2 separate regions of the Homo sapiens genome follow, and region 1 is linked to region 2. The links are contacts of gene promoters, found by promoter capture Hi-C in human tissues and cell types (Jung and others, 2019). All regions are on one chromosome and are shown on one strand. Each heading gives the region's core, a stretch centred on a gene start or on the middle of the fragment in contact. The rest is flanking DNA. Distances are from core to core; before and after follow the strand shown.

Region 1 (5,124 bases), core at 1,974-4,473, 270 kb before region 2:
CTGTCACATTCTCTAGGGCACTACCTTTTAGACTGCTTTCAAGCTACATCTAAGGCTAAACAAACAAATAAAAGAAACCCTTTATCTGTTTAAAAGGAAGACTCTTCTGTTTCTAGTCTAACCATAAGTAATTCCTCCTTTGTTCTTTTGATGTGTAATAGCTTCAAATTCCATGACACAGCAGAGAATTCTCTAGGAAAGGTGTCCCCAGCCCCAGGGCCGTGGACCAGTACAGGTCCATGGCCGGTTAGGAACTGGGTGGCACAGCAGGAGGTGAGCAGTGGGGAGTGAGCACCACCGCCTGAGCGCCACCTCCTGTCAGATCAGTGGCAGCATTAGATCCCCATAGGAGCGCAAACCCTATTGTGAACTGCGCATGAGAGGGATCTAGGCTGCACACTCCTTATGAGAATCTAACTAATGTCTGATGATCTGAGGTGGAAGAGTTTCATACCGAAACCACCCCCCCGTCAGCCCCACAGAAAAATTGTTTTCCGGCCAGGCACGGTGGCTCACGCCTGTAATCCCGGCACTTTGGGAGGCTGAGGTGAGCAGATCACCTGAGGTCAGGAGTTCGAGACCAGCCTGGTCAACATGGTGAAACCCTGTCTCTACTAAAAATACAAAAAAATTAGCTGGGCGTGGTGGCGTGCACCTCTAGTCCCAGCTACTCGGGAGGCTGAGGCAGGGGAATTGCTTGTACCCAGGAGGCGGAGGTTGCAGTGAGCTGAGACCACGCCATTGCATTCCAGCCTGGGCAACAAGATGAAACAAAAAAGAAAAAAGAAAAATTGTTTTCCATGAAACCATTACCCCAGTGTCAAAAAGGTTGGGGACCACTCCTCTAGGAAATAGGCAGAGAAGTATGGGTTACTATTATTAATCTCAGAATTCATTTTTTTAATCAGAAAGGTTGTTTACAGATCTAAGTCATAACCAACCAGAAGTGAAGGTGCTTATAGGTTGAATAGCTAGATGTGAAAATTGCTTTAGTTAATAAAGACAATACCATCCAACTCTAGCTGTATGAATAAAGCTTATTTTAAAAAGTCAAATGGCTCACTGACATTTTCATTATTTAAACTAGTAGACTAGTTAGGCCATTTCTCACTTGGGCTACAGCAAAAGCCTCCTAACTAGTTTCCAACTTCACTCTCACACTTCGAACAAAACCTTTTTTCTATATACCTACCATTCTCTCCTAACTAAAACAGAGAGATGGCCAGGTCTTTCCCCTGATTAAAAATCTGTAATGGTTCCCCAGGAAACAGGATAAAATGTGAGCTCTGTAGCATAGAATACAAGGCCCTTTATGACCTGGTCACTGCCTACCTCTTCAGCCTCTTCTGCTGTCTGTAGTGCCTACATACACCCTGCTGTAATTCTCTGTCCTTCCCTCTCTGCTTTCCAGTAACACCGGGCGGCACTCAGCTCCATGGATGTGCTCTGATCCCTCCTGTAGGTGGGCCACTGAAACAGGCTCTTCCCGGGCATGGAACACACTTTGTAACTATCGTTTCCCTTACCCATCCTGCAGTCTTCAGCTCTATTATGACCTCCTTAGGAAGCCTTCCCAGACACTGCAGATTGGACACATGTTGTGCACTGCCTCTGTACCACTTTTCATGGCTTGTAATTCTATACCATGGTTTGAGATTGCTGTCGTGGGAGCAGGGACACTATCTGCTTTATCACTCATCTCTGATTATTCACATAGTACACACATTAGCAAGCATGGAAAAAAGATCTGTTCTGTCAAGTTGCCTTAAAACGGCACGATCCAAAAGGATAATTTTCGAGTTTTTTGGTGATACCAATTAAAACCAGTAATTAATAAGTGAAAACATCCTAGAGTCTTTATTTTCTTTTTATAAAAATATTAGCTGTTTTTTTAGTAAGGAAAGCAGTAAGGGATGTAAATTTTTTAGTGGAATAAAATGAATTATCTCTAGATCAGGCCTTACATTAGAGATGGCAAAAGTCTTAAGGTCATTATGATTTTTAAAAAATGGAAATACAATTGTTTGCCTTTTAGACTCTTCTGTTTCAAGATGATGTACTGAGCACATACTGAAGTTCTCTCCCTTCTACACCAAAACCGAGTGTTTCACAGAATAAAATCCACGAGGAATGCTCCAGAATGAAAAGCAATTAGCATAAGACTAGCGAGAGAAGCAGCAGTTAGGATGTCAGTGGGAAAATGCTTCTGCAAACTGCTGCAGGTGGCTGAAACTAGAAGCAAGGTGGGTGGAAATGAGCGGACCCAGAGGCAACCACTAGGGTGATGAACGGGATAATCCAGTGAGAGCAACAGAGCAGGTTATTTCTATGTTTACAAAAGCACGGATGTGTAAACACACACAAGGTTCTCCCTCATTCCTAATGCCGAAAGCTGGGCCCCAGTGACTGGGCTGTGTTTCAGCTTCCAGGTAGGAGCAATAAGTGTAAGAGGAAAGGGAGGTAGAGCTCCAGGAAACAGGAGGAATCAAGAAGCATCCTACCCTCCAAACATTCCACACATCTCTGTCTCTCTGAGACTGAAAACGACATGCAACTAAACTTCCCTGTAAACAGGCTACACAAAGGCTCTGCAGATTCCCCACCCTCAGCTACAAAGGTGGATGCAATTCTCCCCTATTTGCCCTACAAAGTCTATACAATTCTTTTTTTTTTTTTTTTTCTGAGACGGAGTCTCGCTCTGTCGCCCAGGCTGGAGTGCAGTGGCGCAATCAAGGCTCACTGCAAGCTCTGCCTCCCGGGTCCACACCATTCTCCTGCCTCAGCCTCCAGAGTAGCTGGGACTACAGGCACCTGCCACCATGCCTGGCTAATTTTTGTATTTTTAGTAGAGATGGCGTTTCACCTTGTTAGCCAGGATGGTCTCGCTCTCCTGACCTCGTGATCTGCCGGCCTCGGCCTCCCAAAGTGCTGAGATTACAGGCATAAGCCACGGTGCCCGGCCCAAAGTCTATACAATTCTAATCAAAGTAGCCACAGGTTTTTTTTTCTGTTAAAGTACATGATAAACAGATTCTAAAATTTATAGAAAGATGCAAAAAGCCAAAGCAATTAACAGGATTCTGAAGAAGAATCTGGTTAAGAGATTTGTTCCATCAGGCATTAACAATCAATATAAGAGCCAGGTGTGGTGGCTCGCGCCTGTAATCCCAGCACTTTGGGAGGCCAAGGCTGGCAGATCGTTTGAGCTCAGGAGTTTGAGACCAGCCTGGGCAACATATGAGAGCCTGTCTCTACAAAAAATACAAAAATTAGTTGGGCATGGTGTTGTGCACCTGTAGTCCCAACTACTTGGAAGGCTGAGGCAGGAGGATCACTTGAATCTGGGAGGTGGAGGTTGCAATGATCCAAGACATATCACTGCACTCCAGCCTGGGTCACAGAGTGAGACCCTGCCTCAAAGAAAAAAAAAAAAAGATTGTAAGATATAGTAATCAAGACAGGGTGCTACTATTAGCTCAGGTACAGACAAATAACCTAATGGAATAAAGCAGAGAACACAGAAACAGACTCTCACATGGAAACCTGACAAATAATGGTGGTCTAGGTCAGTGGGGAAATAGAAGACTCAATAAATGGGTCTGGGATACTATCCAAGTTTAAAGAAAAAAGTGAAAGTGAATCTTTTCACAAATATACAAAAATAAAATCCAGCTAGCTCAAAGATTTAAAGTGTAAAAGGCAAGCTATAGAAAAAATACAGGAAAATGTCTTTATGACCTCAAGTAAGACAAAAATTTCTTAAAAAACAAAAAGCTCGAACCACAAAAAAGAGAAATTGAAGACAGGCACGGTGGCTCACGCCTGTAATCTCAGCACTTTGGGAGGCTGAGGCAGGTGGATCACAAGGTCAGAAGTTCAAGACCAGCCTGGCCAACATGATGAAACCCTGTCTCTACTAAAAATACAAAAATTAGCCGGGCGCGGTGGCAGGCGCCTGTAATCCCAGCTACTCGGGAGGCTGAGGCAGGAGAATTGATTGAACCCGGGGGGCGGAGGTTGCAGAGAGCTGAGATTGAGCCACTAGACTCCAGCCTGGGTGACAGAATGAGACTCCATCTCAAAAAAAAAAAAAAGAGAAATTGATCAAATCCACCATATCAAATTAATAACTTCTATTCATTAAAATATACTACTGAAAGGGTGAGAAGGCAAATCACATCCTGGAATACTATCTTTAACATCATATAACTGGCAAAGGATTAGTGTATAGACTACAAGGAATGTTTATTAATAGAAAACGAAAAAGCTAACCACCAAGTAGAAAAATGGATTAAAGACCTTGATATGGTTTGGCTGTGTCCCCACCCAAATCTCATCTTGAATTCTCATGTGTTGTGGGAGAGACCCAGTAGGAGGTAACTGAATCATGGGCAGGTCTTCACAAGATCTCCTGGTTTTAAAAGGGGGAGTTTCCCTGCACAAGCTCTCTCTCGTTGCCTGCTGTCATCCACGTAGGACGCGACTTGCTCCTCCTTGCCTTCCGCCATAATTGTGAGGCCTCCCCAGCCATGTGAAACTGTAAGTCCAATAAACCCTTTTTCTTGTATAAATTACCCAGTCTCAGGTATGTCTTTATCAGCAGTGTGAAAACAGACTAATATAGATAGTGAACAGATATTTCTTTCTCTTGAACAGATATTTCACAGAAAGCACACAAGAATGGTCAATTAACCCGAAAAGATGCTCAGTTTTTTGAGTAATCAGGGAAAGGCCAATTTAAAACACAATGAGCTAGTATTTCACCCCTCCCAGAGTTGCTGAGGGTGCTCAGCAATGGGAACGCTCATCTTCTGTGGGTGAGAATGTACACTAAAAACTTTTAGAAAACAATCTGACAAACCTAGTCAAGTCACACACGGGAACAGCCTGTAACCCAGCAATTCTAATCCTAAATATACATCTCTGAATGACCTTTAAATCTTTGGTCAGGACCCACACCAAGAAATACATTTTATATCCTGACTCAGTATACACATAACTAAAACAAACTGTTTCATAAGACAACGTTTTCACTGTGTGCACAACACTCTGATTATATTATTCTAGCGCATTTAGTGTCGTCCACTATACAGAGTTCATAACCCACCAATGCATTGGTTTTTA
Region 2 (2,700 bases), core at 201-2,700:
AACAGCTCACATCTGTCCAAACTCCTTACCAAGCTAGCTAGAAGCATCCCCTCTCTTATAAGCCTTATGTGCTGTCTCCCTGCTAGTATGTTCCTTGAGGACAAGGATTTCGCCTTACTTATCACTATATTACCAGTGCCTGGAATAGTGCTGCTCATCCATTCGTAGGTTTTATACATTCAATTAATATCTATGATGCTCAGTAAATATTGAATAAGTGAATAAAGTATTCAGTGAAAGAACAAATACGTGACATGGCTCTTACCAGTTTAAATGGTGTGGTTATTTTCTTTTTCTTATATGAATCTTTTGCTCAAAACATACCTACTCATTGTTTCCTGAACACATCATTTACTTTGCCACCTCTGTGATTTTGCTCACACAATTTCTCCAGTTCGTAACACCCTTAACACTCTTCTCTGATAATCAAAGACCTTGACCTTTAAGGCCAAGCCAAGTACCACCTTCAGGGTGAATATCTCCCCAAGGACCCAAGATTTCAGTGACTTAGTCTCTCACCTTCTATTATTTTTATGGTCTCTATCTACTTAGCACACATCCCATATACATTTTCTATTTAAGGATATATTCTTTCTTCCCAACTAGATTTTAAATCTCATGAAAACAGCAGTCCTATTTTATTTCCACATTTATATTCAATTCCTAATCTAATATATATATAATTATATAAAATTATATATATATTTTATATACGATATAAATTATATATTATATATAATTATATGTATAATTTTATATATAATTATATATATATATATATATATATATATATATATATATATATATCCTATCCTCTTGCCCGGGCTGGAGTGCAGTGGCATGATCATAGCTCACTGCAGCTTCGAACTCCTGGGCTCAAGCAGTCCTCCCACTTCAGCCTCTTGAGTAGCTGGGACTACAGGCATGCACCACCACTCCTGGCTAATTTTTGTATTTTTTGTGGAGACAGTCTCGCTCTGTGGCCCAGGCTGGTCTTGAATTCCTGGGCTCAAGCAATCCTCCCACCTTGGCTTCCCCAAGTGCTGGGATTACAGGAGTGAGCCACCATACCCAGCCATAACAAGTATTTAGTAGTTTCTAATGATAGTTAGATTTTTTGCTTTGATATCATCATCATAAAAGATCTGGGGCACTCTTCAAACCTAATTTAGGTTGTAATTGAATAATGAAGCAGTTAAAATATGACAGTAATATTTCCATCAAACTTAATCCTATACGTTACGTTAATGTATCTGTATATACATTTACCATAATGTACACAGTCATTAATTATACATGGTTGTTGCTGTATGTTAATGTACTATGGTTCAGTTTTCAAAGGCAAATGTTATAGTGCATTCCAGGACACCTGTGTCCACGAGATAAGTTCTTTGAAACTATATTTGGATCTGCAGGCTATTAAAAGCTTCTTGTACTGAGTGACCTTTCAGGCAGAATGTAGACTGAGCGCTCCTGCTACTGCTGCCTGTTGCTGAGAGGAAGACCGCAGAAAATTCTGGATTCAAACATTTATTGCTTTTTTTGTTTTGCTTTGTTTTTGTTTTCTTTCCTTTTGCCTTCAGAAGATGAACAATGAAACCACAACCCTGATATCCTTGAAGGAGGCAATGAAAAGGTTGCTGAGGGCTATAGGGAGGGAGCAAGCATGGGTCTGCTATTCTGGGAAGATGGGTAAGAGAAGAATGAAGAATAGAAATAAAGAACTGCAGACATGCTCATTAGAATTCTGTCTCTGTGGCCGGTGCGGTGGCTCACACCTGTAATCCCAGCACACTGGGAGGCCGAGGTGGGCGGATCACAGGGTCAAGAGATTGAGACCAGCCTGGCGAACATGGTGAAACCCTGCCTCTACTAAAAATACAAAAATTACCCAGGCATGGTGGCGGGCGCCTGTAGTCCCAGCTACTTGGGAGGCTGAGGCAGGAGAATCACTTGAACCCGGGAGGTGGAGGTTGCAGTGAGCCGAGATCGTGCCACTGCACTCCAGCCTGGCAACAGAGCAAGACTCCGTCCAAAAAAAGAATTCCGTCTCTATTACAGTGGTTTAAGTCTTCCAGGCCCAAACCTATGTAAATTAACAATAAAGAAAAGTCTGCTCCCAGGTGCTGTAACTCCATTGAATGTATGCATATGCTAAATCCTAGATTTACAAAAATAAGTAAAATGTGGTTTCTGCCCTCAAGGAGCTCACAGCCTGTAGGAAAGAGAAAAGTTTGAAAAACATTTACAATTTAATGTGACTGACCTTACAATGGTGATGTTCCTAAAGGTCTATGCGAACATGAAGGGAGGATCAACCAATTTTGCCTTTGACACTAGAAAAAGGAACTCTTCATATAGGGTCATTTAAGCTGGATCTTAAAGTGCAAGTAGGAGCTTATGAGGGAGAAAAATATGGGAAGGCATTCTAGGCTGAGGAAACAGTGCATATAAGCCATATGTAAGCTTGGAACCACATAATGTATTCAAGCAGCAACTAGATGTCTCGTGTAATTGGTAACTAGGATGGGTGAGGGGACTGGTGGAAGACAGGAGCAAAGGGTGAAGGCCCTTGACTTTCCTGCTGAGGAGATCCAGTTTGCCTCTGAGTATATCACTGGGCAAGCCAGGATGACATAAACCATTTGTAATCAGTTGAGTCACAGAATCGGAATTGTGTTTTAGAAGAATGTGTCTGGA

The links. Contacts are between HindIII fragments. The study calls those that stand out against the background at their distance.
Region 1: a contact is called between a fragment that was not itself captured here and the fragment with the promoter of SMCO1 in region 2, in 3 of the 25 tissues and cell types used here (H1 embryonic stem cells, IMR-90 fibroblasts and mesenchymal stem cells).

The regions. Positions count from the first base shown.
Region 1 is chr3:196,785,137-196,790,260 of GRCh38, reverse strand. The region is part of intron 2 of PAK2 (p21 (RAC1) activated kinase 2); the gene reads right to left. Among named protein-coding and RNA genes, the nearest start is that of PAK2, 48 kb to the right of the region's middle. RefSeq lists an enhancer at 2,655-3,361. The HindIII fragment of the contact is 5,914 bases long and covers 267-5,124 here.
Region 2 is chr3:196,514,096-196,516,795 of GRCh38, reverse strand. SMCO1 (single-pass membrane protein with coiled-coil domains 1) reads left to right here and starts at 1,450. Exons shown (of 3, transcript NM_001077657.3): 1 at 1,450-1,636. The coding sequence starts at 1,587. The HindIII fragment of the contact is 4,365 bases long and covers 1-2,700 here.